Regions from separate parts of the Homo sapiens genome. Here region 1 is linked to region 2. The links are contacts of gene promoters, found by promoter capture Hi-C in blood cells and fetal thymus (Javierre and others, 2016). All regions are on one chromosome and are shown on one strand. Each heading gives the region's core, a stretch centred on a gene start or on the middle of the fragment in contact. The rest is flanking DNA. Distances are from core to core; before and after follow the strand shown. Region 1 has its middle 4.6 kb from the start of TYW2. Region 2 holds the start of KLHL38 (kelch like family member 38).

Region 1 (3,520 bases), core at 884-3,383, 790 kb after region 2:
TTGTGCCCAGCCAGCAAAGAGATTGCCTCTTAGCTAATACCAATATGTGTCCAGAATTGGGATATTAATCCAGATTTTTATGTTATTTATCTTTCTTGTTTCTTCTAAGCAGGAGCCAGATATCACTGGTTGGTTCACAGGAATAAGTGGAATCAGTCTCTTGTGTTCCAGCAGCCTGTGGGACTTCATAAGAAACAGACTTAATTCAAGATCAATGAGCCCAGCTGCTTCTTCCTTGAAGTGTAACTGCGGTTGAGGCACTAAGGAGTACTTACTTAGTAGGGTCCTTTCCACTGTGGGAAAGTTGATCTGCTAGGGACCATTTTTTCAAGTCATTAACAGGATCCCATTTCCTGGCTGGATTACAATAGGATTTTTTTCCTTAGTGAGGGAAGGAAGTCTCTCATTTCTGTATTCAAGAAGAGCTTTTTGCACCTGACCTAAGTTGGCAACATAATTCTGTAATTTGAAAGTATCTCCATCTACTAGGAAATCAGCAATTCTTTCAGAAAGGCTTTCCGTACATTATTTCAAAAGGGCTGAGCCTTCCACTGGGGCAGCCCAAACTTGCAGCGAGGCCACAGGCGATAGACGGAGCCAGGTTTCTGATGTTTCCTGTCAGAGCTTAGCAAGGGTCCTGTCTAAAATTTGATTGGTCCTTTCTACTTTTCCTGAAGACTGTGGCCTCCATGCGGAATGAAGACCATATTGAATTCCTAGAGCGGATGCTATGTCTTGGTTATTGTTGCTGTAAAGATGGGCCATTATCACTCTACAAGCTTTTAGGCAACCTGAATCTGGGAATCATATCCTTGAATGAAAATTTAGAAACCTTGATTGACTTTTCAGGCCAGATAGGAAAAGCTTCAATCCAACATGTAAAGAAAGGTATCAACCAACACTGATAAATATTGGAATCCTTTACATGGGGGCATTTGGGTATAGTGTGTTTGCCAATCTTCTTCTGGGTACGACCCCCTATGCTGAACAGGCTTTACTAATGGAGGAGGTAAAGTTTGGTTGTTTGAGGTTTTTTTGGGCACACAATTCACAGGCCCAAGTCACTTGTTTTACTGTTCTAAGAAAGTCTTTTCGGCCAGGCACGGTGGCTCACGCCTGTAATCCCAGCACTTTGGGAGGCTGAGGTGGGTGGATCACGAGGTCAGGAGTTCAAGACCAGCCTGGCCAACATGGTGAAACCCTGTCTTTACTAAAAATACAAAAATTAGCTGGGCATGGTGGCAGATGCCTGCAATCCCAGCTACTCGGGAGGCTGAGGCAGAGAATTGCTTGAACCCAGGAGGCAGAGGTTGCAGTGAGCTGAGATCACACCACTGCACTCCAGCCTGGGTGACAGAGCGAGACTCCGTCTCAAAAAAAAAAAGAAAGTCTTTCCCTATAAACAGATGAGCCATATTAATTGAAATGAGAAATCTCTTCCCAAATGAGTAGAGCCATGCCAATACTTAACTATTTTCCATTGATCAGCTCTTGGTACATATCATCTGTCATTTTCATCAATTAGCCATCTGGAAGTGCTTATAGTTAACCCATGGGTCTTAGCCCATTTTTGTTCTTTTCTAGTATTAACCATGCTCTAGTTTTATCGTCACCAAGGCAGTGGGCACCAACATGCCTACCAGATTAACTGGTTCCCTCAAATGAAGCTGCCTCAGCTGTAGCATCTGCAAAAGAATGCCCTTTTATTATTTTGGAGTTTTCTTTCTTTCTTTTCTTTTCTTTTTTTTCTTTTTTTTTTTTTTTTTGAGTCAGAGCCTTGCTCAAGTTGCCCAGGCTGGAGTGCAATGGCACGATCTCAGGCTCACTGCAACCTCTGCTGCCCAGGTTCAAGCAATTCTCCTGCCTTAGCCTCCCAGGTAGCTGGGATTACAGGCACGAGCCACCACGCCCAACTAATTTTTGTATTTTTAGTAGAGATGGGGTTTCACCCTGTTGGCAAGCCTGGTCTCGAACTCCTGACCTCATGATCCGCCCGCCTTAGCCCCTCAAAGTGCTGGGATTACAGGTGTGAGCCACAGTGCCTGGCATATTTTGGAGTTTTCTTTTTGATGTCCCTTGCAGTGAATCACAGCAACTTCCTTAGGCAGCAAGGAAGCATCTAGTAGATTTAAAATTCCCAAATAATGTTCTATAGGGGAGCCCTTAGAAGTTAAAGAGTCCCCATTATTTCCAAATAGCAGCATGAGCATGAAGCACCAGAAAGCCATACTTGGAGTTTGTGTACATGTTAATTCTTTTTTAAAATTATTATCCTTTTTTGAGACAGAGTCTCGCTCTGTCTCTAGCCTGGAGTGCAGTGGCATGACCTTGGCTTACTGCAAGCTCTGCCTCCTGGGTTCAAGTGATTCTCCTCCCTCAGCCTCCTGAGTAATTGGGACTACAGGTGTGCACCACCACGCCCAGGTAATTTTTGTATTTTTAGTACAAATGGGGTTTCACCATGTTGGCCAGGCTGTTCTGGAACTCCTGACCTCAAGTAATCCGCCTGCCTCAGCCTCCCAAAGTACTGGGATTACAGGTGTGAGCCACCACACCCAGCCCTAGTGGCCCGTCTTTTAAATCCTGCCAGCTGGAATAAATTTGTTCCATAGCTTGTGTACATGAATGATCTAGGGTGCCTTTGGATCCAAGTAGATACGTAGCTAGGATTAAGGTCTTCTGTTATACTTTAAGAGTTATATCAAGAGTATCTAGCAATAAAGCCTGATAATTTAATAACTATCCCCTACTCATCTATTGGTGCCCTTTAGCTTCTAGGGCCTCTGTTATTTGGTGTGGGGTCAAAACCTCCAGATGTTGTCCCAAAGTTAATTTATTGTCTTCATCTATGAGAAGAGCAGTTGTTGCAACTGCCCTGAAACATCTGAGTCATCCTGAAGCCACATGGTCAATTGGTTAGAAAAATATGCCATGGGTCAAGGGATGTATCCCTGTTTCTAGACAAGAACATTTAGGGCTGTCCCTTGTTTCTCAGCCACATAAAGGAAGAAAGTAAAGCCTGTCCCTAAACCCACGGGGAAGAATTGTCCAAGTTAACACAGAAACCAAAAGATTATTAGGTAATCAAAAGTAAAGACCACAATAGGGGACTCAGCAAAAGAAATGTTTCACTAGAGAAGGGAAATGACAAAGTTCTAGAAAGGAATGTCCAAGTTCAGGCCAGTAGCGGCAAGCAGGACAAGATTTACATGGCCTTGCCATTTGTAACCAAAAAGTAAAAGTCATTCCATTAGCAAGGAGATGAAAAAGAACTGCTGAAAAGCAATCTCCAGTTTTCCATCCTGGAGCAGTTCACCTAGGGGGGACTGGTATAATTGCTGCCAGGCTTAATCTTTCACATTGGACCTTTTCATTTAAAACTTGTAAATGCGAAATTCCAAGTAAGCTTTGCAAAAAAGGAGAGACAATAAACAATTCATTTAAGTGGTCTAGATCTAGGGAAAGTAAATATTACAGAGCCATTTGTCCCCAATGTCTTCTAGCAACATGCCAGAACAAC
Region 2 (3,887 bases), core at 1,248-3,747:
ATGTGTATGCATGTGCACACGTATGCATGTTGGCATCTGCATATATGTGTGCATATGTGTATGCATGTATGCATGAATATACATTTCTGCATATATGTGTGCACGCATGTATGCATATGTGTGTTTGTGTATATGTGTGCATATATATATTTATGTGCATATATGTGTTTTTTGGTGTGTATGTATACATGTGCATGTGTGTGCAAGCAGGTGTGGGTGTGTCCAAGCACACATACTCATGCAGTTACGTGATGGGAAGAACCGGCCATTTACCTGGATAAGGCGCACAGGGTTCTGCATGATGTCCTCTCCTCCAAAGAGATAGAGTCTTTGGTCTTTCACAGCGACTGCGGGGTGGAGCACCCCCACGGGCATGCTGGCCATACTCTCCCAGACATTGCAGATGCTGTCATACCTTTCCATGGAGCCCATGAGCTCCTGCCCTTCTCCAATCCCCCCGATGGAGAAGATGAAGTTCTTATGGGCAGTGCTTCTGTGGGAGTAGCGGGCCACCAGCATGGGCTCCCCCAGCCTCCACTGATTGAGTTTCAGGGAGAAGATGTAGACATTGTGACTGACCAGACTCCTCCCTGAGCTGACAGCCATGCCCCCCAGCACATAGATGCTGCGGTGCAAGGTGATGGCAGAGGCCTTGTACAGCCGTGTCGGGAGTTTGGCAAGGCTCTGCCATTGGCCGGTCTGTTTGCTGTACAGTAGGACGTCCCTGGTGGTCTGCTGGCTGTCCTTCCTTCCGCCCAAGAGGATGAGGAAATCTTGGTAAGAGTTTCTTGGAGGGACATGCAACAGGAGTTTGCAGTCTGGGACGGTGGTGCCACACAAAGAGAACATCTGTCTCTTGGCGGTCTCCAAGATGATCTGGCATGCAGGCGAGGACTGCAGGAGGGCATCGTTGGCGATGAAGTGGTGAAAGAAGGCTGGGTGGATGTACTGCAGCCTGACCTGCTTGAACAGTTCCTGCATGTATCGCTTCCGGGCCTGGAGGTCATGCTTGATCCAAACCATGAGGGCCTCAAACACCTTTTCCTCCTCCCCACAGAGCCCATCATCTCCGAGATAGTCCCTCAACTCCAAGGCACAGAGCTCCTTCAGGTCGGCCGATGCGGCCACCTCTGGGAAGGACGTCAGTGCCACCTCCCTGGCTTTCTTCTTGAGGGTCTCGCAGCTTAAGATTTCTGAGAGTCTGATCATACCCAGGCAGTTGCTGGGGGCCAACTGGCTCTGCAAGTACGAGGAGCAGGCCTCAAACAGCTTGGGGAACTGTAGCATGGAGGCGGCCTCCATCACGGGGAGGACATTGTCAGTGGCAATATGTGCCTCCCCCGTATACACGTAGGAGACGATCTGGTCCAGGGTTGGGGGGTCAATGCCTTTCAGCTGCACTTTGGCTTCACTCTTCTCCCGGAAGCTGCTGCAGAACATAGCCCTGAAGTAGGGGCTGCTGGAGGCCAGCACGTTGCGGTGGCAGGGGATCTCCCGGGCACCGGCACAGATGCTCACATCAGTCAGGATCCTGCTTTGCCTTAAGCTGTTGAGCTGCCTCAACAAGTCAGAAGAGAAGTCGTGGTCTTTGAAGAGCAGCCCATCTAGTGACTCCTCGTCCATCCTACAAAGAGGGAAGGAAGCCCCCAGAGTCAGCAAGAGTCAAACCTTTCTCAGCTGCATGTGCTGGAGGGTTCAGCTGTGGGGACTCCAAGACCAGTGCTCCTATTCCATTCCCCATGATGTTTGCGGATGTCACCATGGATATTGTGTAGGGAAGATTGGAAAGGAAGGCCACATACATCTCAGACCTGAGCCCTTTTGGGTTATGGTTATTTTCAAAAGTAATAGGCAAATAGTATCTTCAGCTAATCTGAGAGAAACAACCAAACAAACAAACTAAAGTTGTTGGAAGTTACTCTGTTATCAGAAGCTGAAATGTTAGTCTGAAGCAAGATAACAGTCCATGGATTTGACCAGCAGAAGTTCATGAGCCTTTTTCCAGATCGATGGCATATCTGTTATTGAGTAACAGATGTCTAAACCTCTCTTTCTGGGTGTCAATCATTCCCCAAGGATGATATTCTGGAGGTGTGGCCCTCTGGTCACTGGACAGAAATGAGGGAAGAAAATGGACCTTTGATGCATATATTTAAATATGACTTCATTGAGTCTTGTTTTAAAGATAGAATAAATAAAAGGAAAGACCAAACAATCCCCTGGTTTATTGGATGACACCTGGTTTTCTACTTGCAGAAGAAATAAGTATGAGGGACACTTACCTTGTTTTGCTGCGGTGACATCCACTGGTGCCTGGTCTGACTTATCCCCCCGGAGAGTTTCTACCTCTAGCTCCAAGGGAAACCATAAACCCCAGGCCTTTCTTTCAGTTGGCAAATGATTTGTCCTGGGAGATTTCTGGATTTGTTTATGCTGAAGGCACTTTCATAGTTTTCTAGAGCTTTGTGCAAGGACTGCTGGGCAGGGAGACAGTGTATACATTCCAGGGCTAAGAATAGTTGCATATGTACTTTCCACTGTTATGACATGTGACTTTCCAGTTGCCTTTTGCAGCAACCCGAGGGCCTGCAGGGCCGGCGCATGCCCACATGCCTCGTTTCCTTGGCAAGTGTTTACATCGGCAAAAATAGATCGGGAGGAGCGGCTTCTCTTAGAGAAGACTTTGCTGTCTGCTTGGAACCATCCCGAGTCCCCTGTCCTAAAAGTGCTTGGGAATTCTAGCCGTCTGTAAACAGGTTGCTGTGACCTGTGGAGAGTCACTGAAGATGGTTCTGGGCCACAGTGGAGGTGGCAGGTGGTCACAAGGGAAGCCGGAACATGAGCCTGTGGGTGCTATTCAATGGATCTCTATTTCCCACCATCTGCCTGGCGGGATCGCTGGGGAGAGCTGTGATTTCCTCCTCCAGGATCCTAGGTGATGAAATCCATGACAAAAGTTGTTGTTTTTTGTTGTTGTTGTTGTTGAGCATCCCAGGGTTTCCAGACTCCTGAAGGCCCAAACCTTTGTCAGGTCTCCTTACTCAGGAACCTCTGATTGACAGTGGTAAGGCCGAGCTCCTCCTGTCGCGTCTGCCTCTCCCAGACACGTGCTGATTGCTCTTCAGCTGGCTTTTTATAGTTCAGACTTCCTTTTCTGTCTTACTTTTCCATTTTGTCTTGTCTGGCAGCTTGAGCTAGAGGCAGGAGGCAAGGCATATTGCTTTAGGGAGAGAGAGAAAGAAGATGAAGGAGGATGAGGAGGAAGAAGAAGCAGGGACAGAGGGAGGGAGAGAGACGAGAGGAGGAAGAAGAGGAGGAGGAATAGGAGGAGGAGGAAAAGAAGCAGGAGGTAGAGAATCGGGGGAGGAATGATGATAGTGATGTGGTAGGAGGCAGCTTTCAATAACAATCAGAATCACGAGAGAGAGTGAGGGGGACCTCAGGTCTGTTCTGCCCCTGCCTTCAGGGAGGTCCATGATTGTCTTAGCCACAAAAGGCAGGGAAGCCTGACTTTGTCTCCTACTCAACGTCTTGCTCAACTAGTGCAATGGTCTTCCATGCATTTTTTTTTCTTTGCTCCTAGTACTTCTCTCTCCAATACATCCACCCTGTCTTCTCTGGAGCAGCCCCTGGGAAGGCAACTCAGAATTTGCCAGTCCCCAGCATCAGGCCCTTCAGTGGCTCCCCATGTCTGCAGGACTCCTTAGCCAGAATCGGACTGGTGTCCTGTCTGCTTCTGGAACCATGTCTACTGCCACTCATGTGTGGTAATCTAGCTCCATGAGACACTTACAGATCCTTGTATGCATCTGGTCACTGTTGGGGAAGCTGGGCTGGCCTGGCCTTTGGGACACCACAGGGCAGGGTGGAAGGAAGAGGGTTTCTCA

Evidence for each region. The method cuts DNA at HindIII sites, captures the fragments that hold promoters and counts their contacts. A CHiCAGO score of 5 or more calls a contact.
Region 1: a contact is called between a fragment that was not itself captured here and the fragment with the promoter of KLHL38 in region 2, in 1 of 17 cell types (endothelial precursors). The highest score is 5.3, in endothelial precursors.

What each region holds. Positions count from the first base shown.
Region 1 is chr8:124,444,484-124,448,003 of GRCh38, forward strand. No RefSeq gene overlaps it. Among named protein-coding and RNA genes, the nearest start is that of TYW2, 4.6 kb to the right of the region's middle. The HindIII fragment of the contact is 2,542 bases long and covers 863-3,404 here.
Region 2 is chr8:123,651,304-123,655,190 of GRCh38, forward strand. It overlaps KLHL38 (kelch like family member 38), which reads right to left and starts at 2,498. Exons shown (of 4, transcript NM_001081675.3): 1 at 2,283-2,498; 2 at 274-1,624. The coding sequence starts at 1,623. The HindIII fragment of the contact is 6,101 bases long and covers 1-3,887 here.